Linked DNA regions of Homo sapiens: region 2 is linked to region 1. Evidence: promoter capture Hi-C in 16 types of primary human blood cells and fetal thymus (Javierre and others, 2016). All regions are on one chromosome and are shown on one strand. The core of a region is centred on a gene start or on the middle of the fragment in contact, and the rest is flanking DNA. Distances in the headings are between cores, read along the strand shown. Region 1 holds the start of PXK (PX domain containing serine/threonine kinase like). Region 2 overlaps PXK (PX domain containing serine/threonine kinase like).

Region 1 (4,258 bases), core at 1,650-4,149:
CTTCAAAAAGGTTTAAGTGACTTGCCCAGCCTATATCACATGACTAGCAAGTATCAGCTCAGACCTGTATTAAGGTCTTGCCTCTTCCAACCCCAAGTCTGTCTCTAACTCCGTATGTTTCTGTCTACAGCCAAGGAGTAACTTCCTAGAGATTCAGCATTTCAAAGCGAGAGTAGAGCTCTGACTTCTGGAACACCATCTCCCTTCAGCTACCAAGCTGGAAAGCCAACTTCAATCTCCCCAAGAAAAAACAGTGCCTTTCTCTTCTACATACCCCTCTTAACAACTACTTCTTTCCAAAATAATTTCCAACAGTTCCTGTTTTAAAAAAGACTTACTCATAAGACACTAACAGTCCAAAAAGTTTGCATCAGCGTAAGATTTTCTCAATAAACTTCAGGGCTGATGCAACATTTCTCAGTCAAACTTTACAGCTAAAATGACAAGAACACAGAACAGTCAAAAAATTACGCAAGACAATGCTACAGTTTTTTACTCTACCACATCTGCCTCTATGGGTCTCCTGTGAGTCACTGTCTTTTGTGGTCAGTCATCCCTACAAGAACTGCCATTTTCTACCCTAAATTATTTTATTTTTTAAAGAAAAGATCTGCAGGGCCAGGTGTGGTGGCTCACATCTGTATACCAGCACTTTGTGGGGCTGAGGCAGGAGAACGGCCTGAGCCCAGGCGTTCCAGACCAGCCTGGACAACATGGTGAGACGCTGTCTCCACACACACACACACACACACACACACACACACACACACACCAGCCTGGACAACATGGTGAGACGCTGTCTCTACACACACACACACACACACACACACAGACACACACACACACACACACACACACACACCCTTACAATAAAAACAGAATCCTATTACATCTTTCGCCACCTAGCTAAAGCACTGATCTCTAAGTTATTTTTTCAATGTTTACAATTACCATTTTACATAAACAGAAAAAGAGGCATAGTAAGGTTGAAGTTGGATTATTTAGTCATTTGATAAACACATTTGAAATCCTATCAAAAACCAGGGAATGAGACTCAAAAGTGAGGAAGAAGTGCCCCTCCTCTTGTAGCCTGGTGGAGACAAAAAGTAAAGAAGTAATTACAGGACAAACTAATCAAGATTAAGGTGTGGGTAGGCACATGGGCTGGGGCTGTAGAAATCATGAATGCTTCCTAGGGAAAGTAATTTGTGAGTATTTAGAAACATCTATCTCTTTATTTTCAATACAAAATAAACCTAAAGGACTCGACACTATTCCCTGAAAGGTTATAAGACTTACTTGCCAATAGTCAAGTCAAAAATCAAATTTAATAGCTGAATTACTCTTGACTCCCTATCCTAAATTTCAACCCTTATGCCATACTCCCTTTAGGCACAAATGATAGCAAGTTTAACAAATTCTGTCCTGTATGTGCCTTCTCACATGTCTACAGAATAGGATTAAAGACACACAGCGTGAAATAAATAGCCCTTTTTAAAAAGATAATAATTTTCTTAACTGGAAGTGAATGCTTTGAACAATTCAAGCCCTACAAAGCACGGCTGTCAGAAGAGGAAACTGAGGTTCAAAAAAGTCTCACTTTAATACAACAGAATAAAAGGTCTCTTTGAAGTCATCAGAAGAGCTTGAACGAAAAGAGAAACAGAAGGCTATTGTGAGCTTTAGCCTCCAGATGATGACCCCCCAAACACACTGCAATGGTAAACAAACAAGCCTCTGAGTCTGAATCTGATTCGGTGGACTGACAAAACATCACAATTGAAGGAATCTCTCTCCTCACTCATTACTTTTCCAAAAAAGTCCCACTAGCTGATAGCTCCAGGTTTCTTGCTGGTTCCTAGATTTATTGCTTGGAAATTATAATGCATAGTGGGCCTTTCAAAAAAAAAAAAAGGTACAAGCAAATGAAAACAACCACGGTTTTAAAGCCCCATAAAAGACCGTATATGTAGCAGAAATGAACCCTGCCAATGTTTACTATGAGGACCTATTACTCCTTTATGCTACTCGAGTGGATTTTAAACTCAAATGAATGCTACCACTGCCCACTAAAGAGCAAGTTAGAGAAGCACATTCATACACCTGCTTAACAGCGCCCCGACTGCCGCCCCCACCACTTCCCGGGACCAGGGCCAAGCGGCTGACCTGGAAACGGGGCTGCAGACCCCAGCCACTTACACTCTGCTGTCCCAACAAGTAGGCTCTGGAGTCACACTTCATTTGGCCCGGCACACCCTCATCCCCATCACCCAGACCCTCAGCTGCAAGGAGGAAATTACACGGCCTCAAAAAGGAAAAGGCTGGCGGCGGGCAGAAGTGGATGGTCCTGAGCGGTCTCGTTCCTGCTCCCCTAGTCCAAGGTGAGCCCGGGAATCCCGCAGCCCCCGCCCCCGCCCCCCAACTCGGAGTCGCTTTCCTGGTCGCCGCCGAGCTCCTTCCACCCCGCGGCGCCGGGAGCTGCGGTCCCCATCCTTGGCCCCTCCGGGCCTCAGCGTTCGCCTGGGCCCCAGGGGCCCTGACCCAGACCCAGCGGCGCGCCACAGCCTTCTCGGCCAGGGCCGCCCACCCTGTGGCCCGGTCTCCGTCCGACGACCCTGCCCGGCCCGCGCCAGGCAGCCCGCAGCCCCCTCGCGGCCCGGGGCCGCCCCACGCCGCCCGCCCGCCCGCTGGGCCGCGCACCGTGTGGGACTGCAGGCTCTGGCTCGCCTCGATGGCTGCTGTCAGCGGCACCGTGTCGTCCAGCAGCACCTTGCCGGCTGGCGGCTTCTCCATGAAGGCCATCCCGGGACGCCCGGCCGCCGCCGCCTAGGGACGCGAGGTAGGAACCCGAGGCGCCGACTCCCGCCGCCCGCCCGGTTCCACCGCCGCCGCTGTCAACACGCGCCGCCCCACGCGCCGCCGGGCCCGCGGGGTCCTAGCGCCGCCCTTCCCACGGCCGCCGCCCCGGAGTCCTAGCGCCGACCCAGCGCAGAACGTGTGGGGGCCGCCAGCACTGCCGCCCGCTGGCCCGCTCCTCCGCCTCGCGGCTGCCATGGGCCTGCGCTTCCCTGCTCCTCGCAGCCGCACCGCAGACCCGGTGCCCTTAGCTCCGGGCTTCGGACCAGGGAACACCACCCTAAGCCATCACTACCAGGATCCTCAGATCCAGAGACGCCTGGTCCTGAGCCCTGGGATCCAGGAATCTTCAGGGCGAGATTTCCAAACCAGGCCTCTCAGAACTGGGCTTTTCGGGGACCGTACCTCTTGAAACCCTCAGAACTGGATCTCTCTCATCCCCCAGGCCCAAGGACCCTAAAACTCAGAAAAAGGGCCTTTAGGATGGGACCCCCAGTCTGAGCCCTGCAAACCCAGAGACTTTCTGAAACAAGCCCTTCCTATTGAAACTTCACAGGGACTCTTGAACGTGGCTCCTCAGGCCTGAACACCTAAGAGCTGGACCCCATAATTGGAGGTCTTGGGCCCCAGAACCCTCAGACCCAAGCTCTAAGAACTGGAGACCCTATAAAATGGTCCAGAGACCCCTAGCCTCTACTCTTGGCCCCCACTGCGGGCTCAACCACATCCCTTAGACTTGGGAGTTTTTGATCCCACCATATGGACTAGAAGAACTTCAAACCAAGAGCCAAGCCAGAGAACCTTGGGATCAACTTCTCAGCCCTAAATCTGCCCACAGTCTGCCTGAACCCAAAGCCATAATCCTGGCACCACCTCATCCCCCCCATCTCCATATACACCTAGAAATTTCACCCACACTGCCCTCTCCTAGGGCAGCATTCCAGGATAGTGAAGAGTTAAATTTAGAATTGGAGGACCATCATCTCCATGGCTCTGGCATTTACCAGCTGTGTGATCTTCAATAAGTTACCCAACCTCTCTGAGTCCCAACTCCCCAATTTGCAAAGTGGAGATAATATTATTTGTATGAAAAGGTTAATACAAGGAATGCAGTAGACTGGGAAGGGGCTTGGCACATAGTAAAAACTCAAACGGTGGTCAGGCATGATCGCTCACGCTTGTAATCCCAGCACTTTGGGAAGCCAAGGTGGGTGGATCACCTGAGGTCAGGAATTTGAGACCAGCCTGGCCAACATGGCAAAACCCCCTCTACTAAAAATATAAAAATTAGCTGGGCATGGTGGCACGTGCCTGTAGACCCAGCTACTCTGGAGGCTGAGGCAGGAGAATTGCTTGAACCCGGGAGGGGGAGGTTGCAGTGAGCCAAGATCATACCACTACA
Region 2 (3,815 bases), core at 691-3,190, 45 kb before region 1:
TACCTTCTGCTTCCTGATGGTTCCTTTTTTTCCTATTTGTTTTGGTCACTTTCAAGTTAAAAGTCTTTCTTGGTGGGAGTCAGGTATGAACAGGAACTGGGATTTAAGGGCCACACTTCAGAGGTATCCCAGGACTCCTTTTTGCCAGAATTATGGGAAGATAATGTTGTGGGATGTGAGTAGTGAAATTTAGAAAAAGCAGAGAGTCCTACAAAACATATCCACAGGAAGACAATTAAAGAGCAACTTACACCAAGTAGGTGAAACTCTAATGCTTCTGAAACAGATAAGGAAGAACACGGCAAATTTTTACCAAAGCTAAGTATTGAACATGGAGAAAAAGTAAACTAGTTCTTAGGTATAAAAATAAAGGGCTACCGCGAGCAGTGGCTCACTCCTGTAATTCCAGCACTATGGGAGGCTGAGGTGGGTGGATCACCTGAGGTCAGGAGTTCAAAACCAGCCTGGGCAACATGGTGAAACTCCGTCTCTACTAAACACACAAAAATTAGGCAGGCAAGGTGGTGGGTGCCTGTAATCCCAGCTACTCAGGAGGCTGAGGCAGGAGAATTGCTTGAACCCAGGAGGCGGAGGCTGCAGTAAGCCAAGATTGCACCACTGCCCTCCAGCCTGGGCAACAGAGCAAAACTCTGTCTCAAATACTACTACTACTAATAATAATAATAAAGGGCTACCAAAATATATATGCTAATATCTGATCAGACTAGTTATGTCTACATACTCCTTAAAAAAATGAAGTCCGGCTGGGCGCGGTGGCTCACGCCTGTAATCCCAGCACTTTGGGAGGCCGAGGCAGGCGAATCACCTGAAGTCGGGAGTTTGAGATTAGCCTGACCAACATGGAGAAACCCCATCTCTACTAAAAACACAAAAAATTAGCTGAGCATGGTGATGCATGCCTGTAATCCCAGCTACTCAGGAGGCTGAGGCAGGAGAATCGCTTGAACCTGGGAGGCAGAGGTTGCGGTGAGCTGAGATCCCACCACTGCACTCCAGCCTGGGCAACAAGAGCGAAACTTCGTCACACACACACACACACACACACACACACACACACACACACAAAAAAAAAAAAAAAAAAAAAGAAGAAAAATGAAGTCCAAATCCAATGAAAACATTTAAATAAGAAACAAAAATGAGTCCTGTAGGAGTCTGGTGACCCTTTGGTTATCAGCCCATATTCAAGAGTGGGGCACCAAAAGTTGACTGGAACCTCTGGGTGAGTGCCCTGGGATTTATCTACTGTGGGCTTTATTTTACCAGATGACCCTATGCAGCTGTTTTACTGGACAAACCTTTAGCTCTTTCCTCTTAGGCAGGACAGATTCCTCTAAAACAATCTTCTAATATCCTGCCTGAAAAGTCTGAAGCCTGACTGCCAGAATTCTGGGAGTTGAGAGGAAGAAGGAAGCTAGGGAGGGAGTGGGGTCCTCACGTATAGTACGTACATGTTTTCAAATGTGCCTGCATACCCCAGCCTAAAGACTGACCCTCTCCAGAAAATAAACTTACGGTTTTTTGCTAGAGGGAGGAGGGCAGGCATAAGTTGTACGGACATGGGAGATTTGGGGATCTGACTGCTTCTTAAACAGACTTGCAACTCCTTGACCTTCACCCCACTCTGGGGGCAGCACCTGGTACTGCCAATGCTGGAACCTTCCAGGGGTTCTGTGATATAAATTGAGACCCAATGAGATTATCTGCTTCCCATCTCAGAATTCTGCCTTCCTACATTTGCTTAATCAGTTAGCTCTCACCCACTGGATTTTCAGCTTAAAGTGTTTTATTGTGGTTTTTTCTTCTCCTGTTCTGTTTGTCCTTCAGAGTGTGTTTGTGTATATAAACAATCCACTATTATTCTAGACTGATTTCGGGAGGGAGAAAAAGTAAATACAGGTACTCAATCTACTATCATTTTCCACATTATTTAAAACTTTTAGTCTTTTCTTTCTTTTCTTTTTTTTTTTTTTTAGAAAGAGATAGGGTCTCACTATGTACTTGAACTCCTGGTTGCAAGTAATCCTCCCACCTCAGCCTGCCTCTCGAGTAGCTGGGACTGTGAGTTTATTTTTTAAACATAAAAAGCAAAGCATGAGATCGGCATTTTAATTTAATGAGCAAAGTCACTTTCAAAGAGTAGTACTATTCTAGACTTGTGCTTATATTAGAGCAGTCCAGTGGCATGTGTATTGATCGAGGGTAAGGTCTAAAGAGAAGGGCATCCTGAATTCAGAAAAGGATGTAATCTAAACCATTAAATTGGGCAAACCTAACTGTTCCATTCTGTATTTTTCAAACAACAATGATGCAGCCAAATGAAGACCTTGAACTTGATACTGGACAAGATGAAAAGGTTGGCGGATAATTCTAAATTGCCAATTTCTCAAATATAATTACGAAAATATGTCAGAGCATACACAGAGTAAATTTTCTATCACAGCATAATTCATTTCCAAATAAGAATCAAATTTCACATCATTTGCCTCATTTATACAGTTAGGCTTTATCTAATAGCAGTTTCTTTTTTAGCTGAATAAAATGCATACATATGAAGAAAGTACATCACTTAGCTATTGCACATCCAAGCCAATCACTTTATTTTTTGGTTCAAGGACATGATGAATTAAATCAAGGGTAGGCCGGGCACAGTGGCTCATGCCTGTAATCCCAGCACTTTGGGAGACCGAGGCAAGTGGACTACCTGGGGTCAGGAGTTAGATACCAGCCTAATCAACATAGCAAAACCCCATCTCTACTAAAAATACAAAAACTAGTCAGGCATGGTGGTACACGACTGTAATTTCAGCTCCTCAGGAGGCTGAGGCACAAGAATCGCTTGAACCCAGGAGGCAAAGGTTGCAGTGAGCCACGATGGCACCACTGCACTCCAGCCTGGGTAATGGAGTGAGACTCTGTCTCAAAAATAAATAAATAAATAAATAAATAATAAAGGGTAATATATTACCTAAAACACAACTGATGTATCTTCCCTGAAACTATTTTATGAAGTTGCAGAATATCATCTCATTTACGTGTGTGTATGCTAAGTTATCACTTAATGTTGTCTATAGGTTCTTACAAACTGGGACTTTAAGCAAAATGAATAACAAGACTAATTTTACCATAGGCTAATTAATTAATTTTATTTATTTATTTATTTTTAGACAGAGTTTCGCTCTTGTCACCCAGGCTGGAGTGCAATGACACAATCTTGGCTCACTGCAACCTCCGCCTCCTGGGTTCAAGTAATTCTCCTGCCTCAGCCTCCCGAGTAAGTGGGATTACAGGTGCCTGCCACCACGCCTGGCTAATTTTTGTATTTTTAGTAGAGATGGGGTTTCACCATGTTGGCCAGGCTGGTCTCAAACTCTTGATCTCAAGTGATTCACCCACCTCAGCCTCCCAAAGTGCTGGAATTACAGGCGTGAGCCACCACGCCCGGCCAGGCTAATTTATATAAACAAGAATTAACTTCCTCCAGCATATTTCTGGTCACAAAAACATCAGCAAACTTCTAAAGACCTAAAACATGTCTAATAATAAACATTGAAATAAATATTACCTATATATAATTTAAGAAAGATTAATAAAAACAAGATAATTATTATTTTGGAGGGTAGCTGTTGTTAACTTGGTGTATTTTTGCACTTAACATTCATTACTTAAAGCAATTATATAGATATTAAAATGTAATTAAAGAATCCAGAAGAAATGGAAAATTACTTAAGCAATTATAATGCTTAGCATTGGTGAGATTTTGCCAACTTAACAAGTTAATTATTTATGCCATGTTT

Evidence for each region. The method cuts DNA at HindIII sites, captures the fragments that hold promoters and counts their contacts. A CHiCAGO score of 5 or more calls a contact.
Region 2: a fragment that was not itself captured here is called in contact with the fragment with the promoter of PXK in region 1 in 3 of 17 cell types (total B cells, naive B cells and neutrophils); the score reaches 9.7 in total B cells.

The regions. Positions count from the first base shown.
Region 1 is chr3:58,331,533-58,335,790 of GRCh38, reverse strand. PXK (PX domain containing serine/threonine kinase like) reads right to left here and starts at 2,899. Exons shown (of 18, transcript NM_017771.5): 1 at 2,701-2,899. The coding sequence starts at 2,802. RefSeq lists silencers at 2,055-2,349, 2,596-3,125. The HindIII fragment of the contact is 5,516 bases long and covers 1-4,258 here.
Region 2 is chr3:58,375,783-58,379,597 of GRCh38, reverse strand. All of the region lies in intron 3 of PXK (PX domain containing serine/threonine kinase like), which reads right to left. It also overlaps the pseudogene WDR53P1. Among named protein-coding and RNA genes, the nearest start is that of PXK, 45 kb to the right of the region's middle. RefSeq lists a silencer at 1,515-1,742. The HindIII fragment of the contact is 5,157 bases long and covers 1-3,815 here.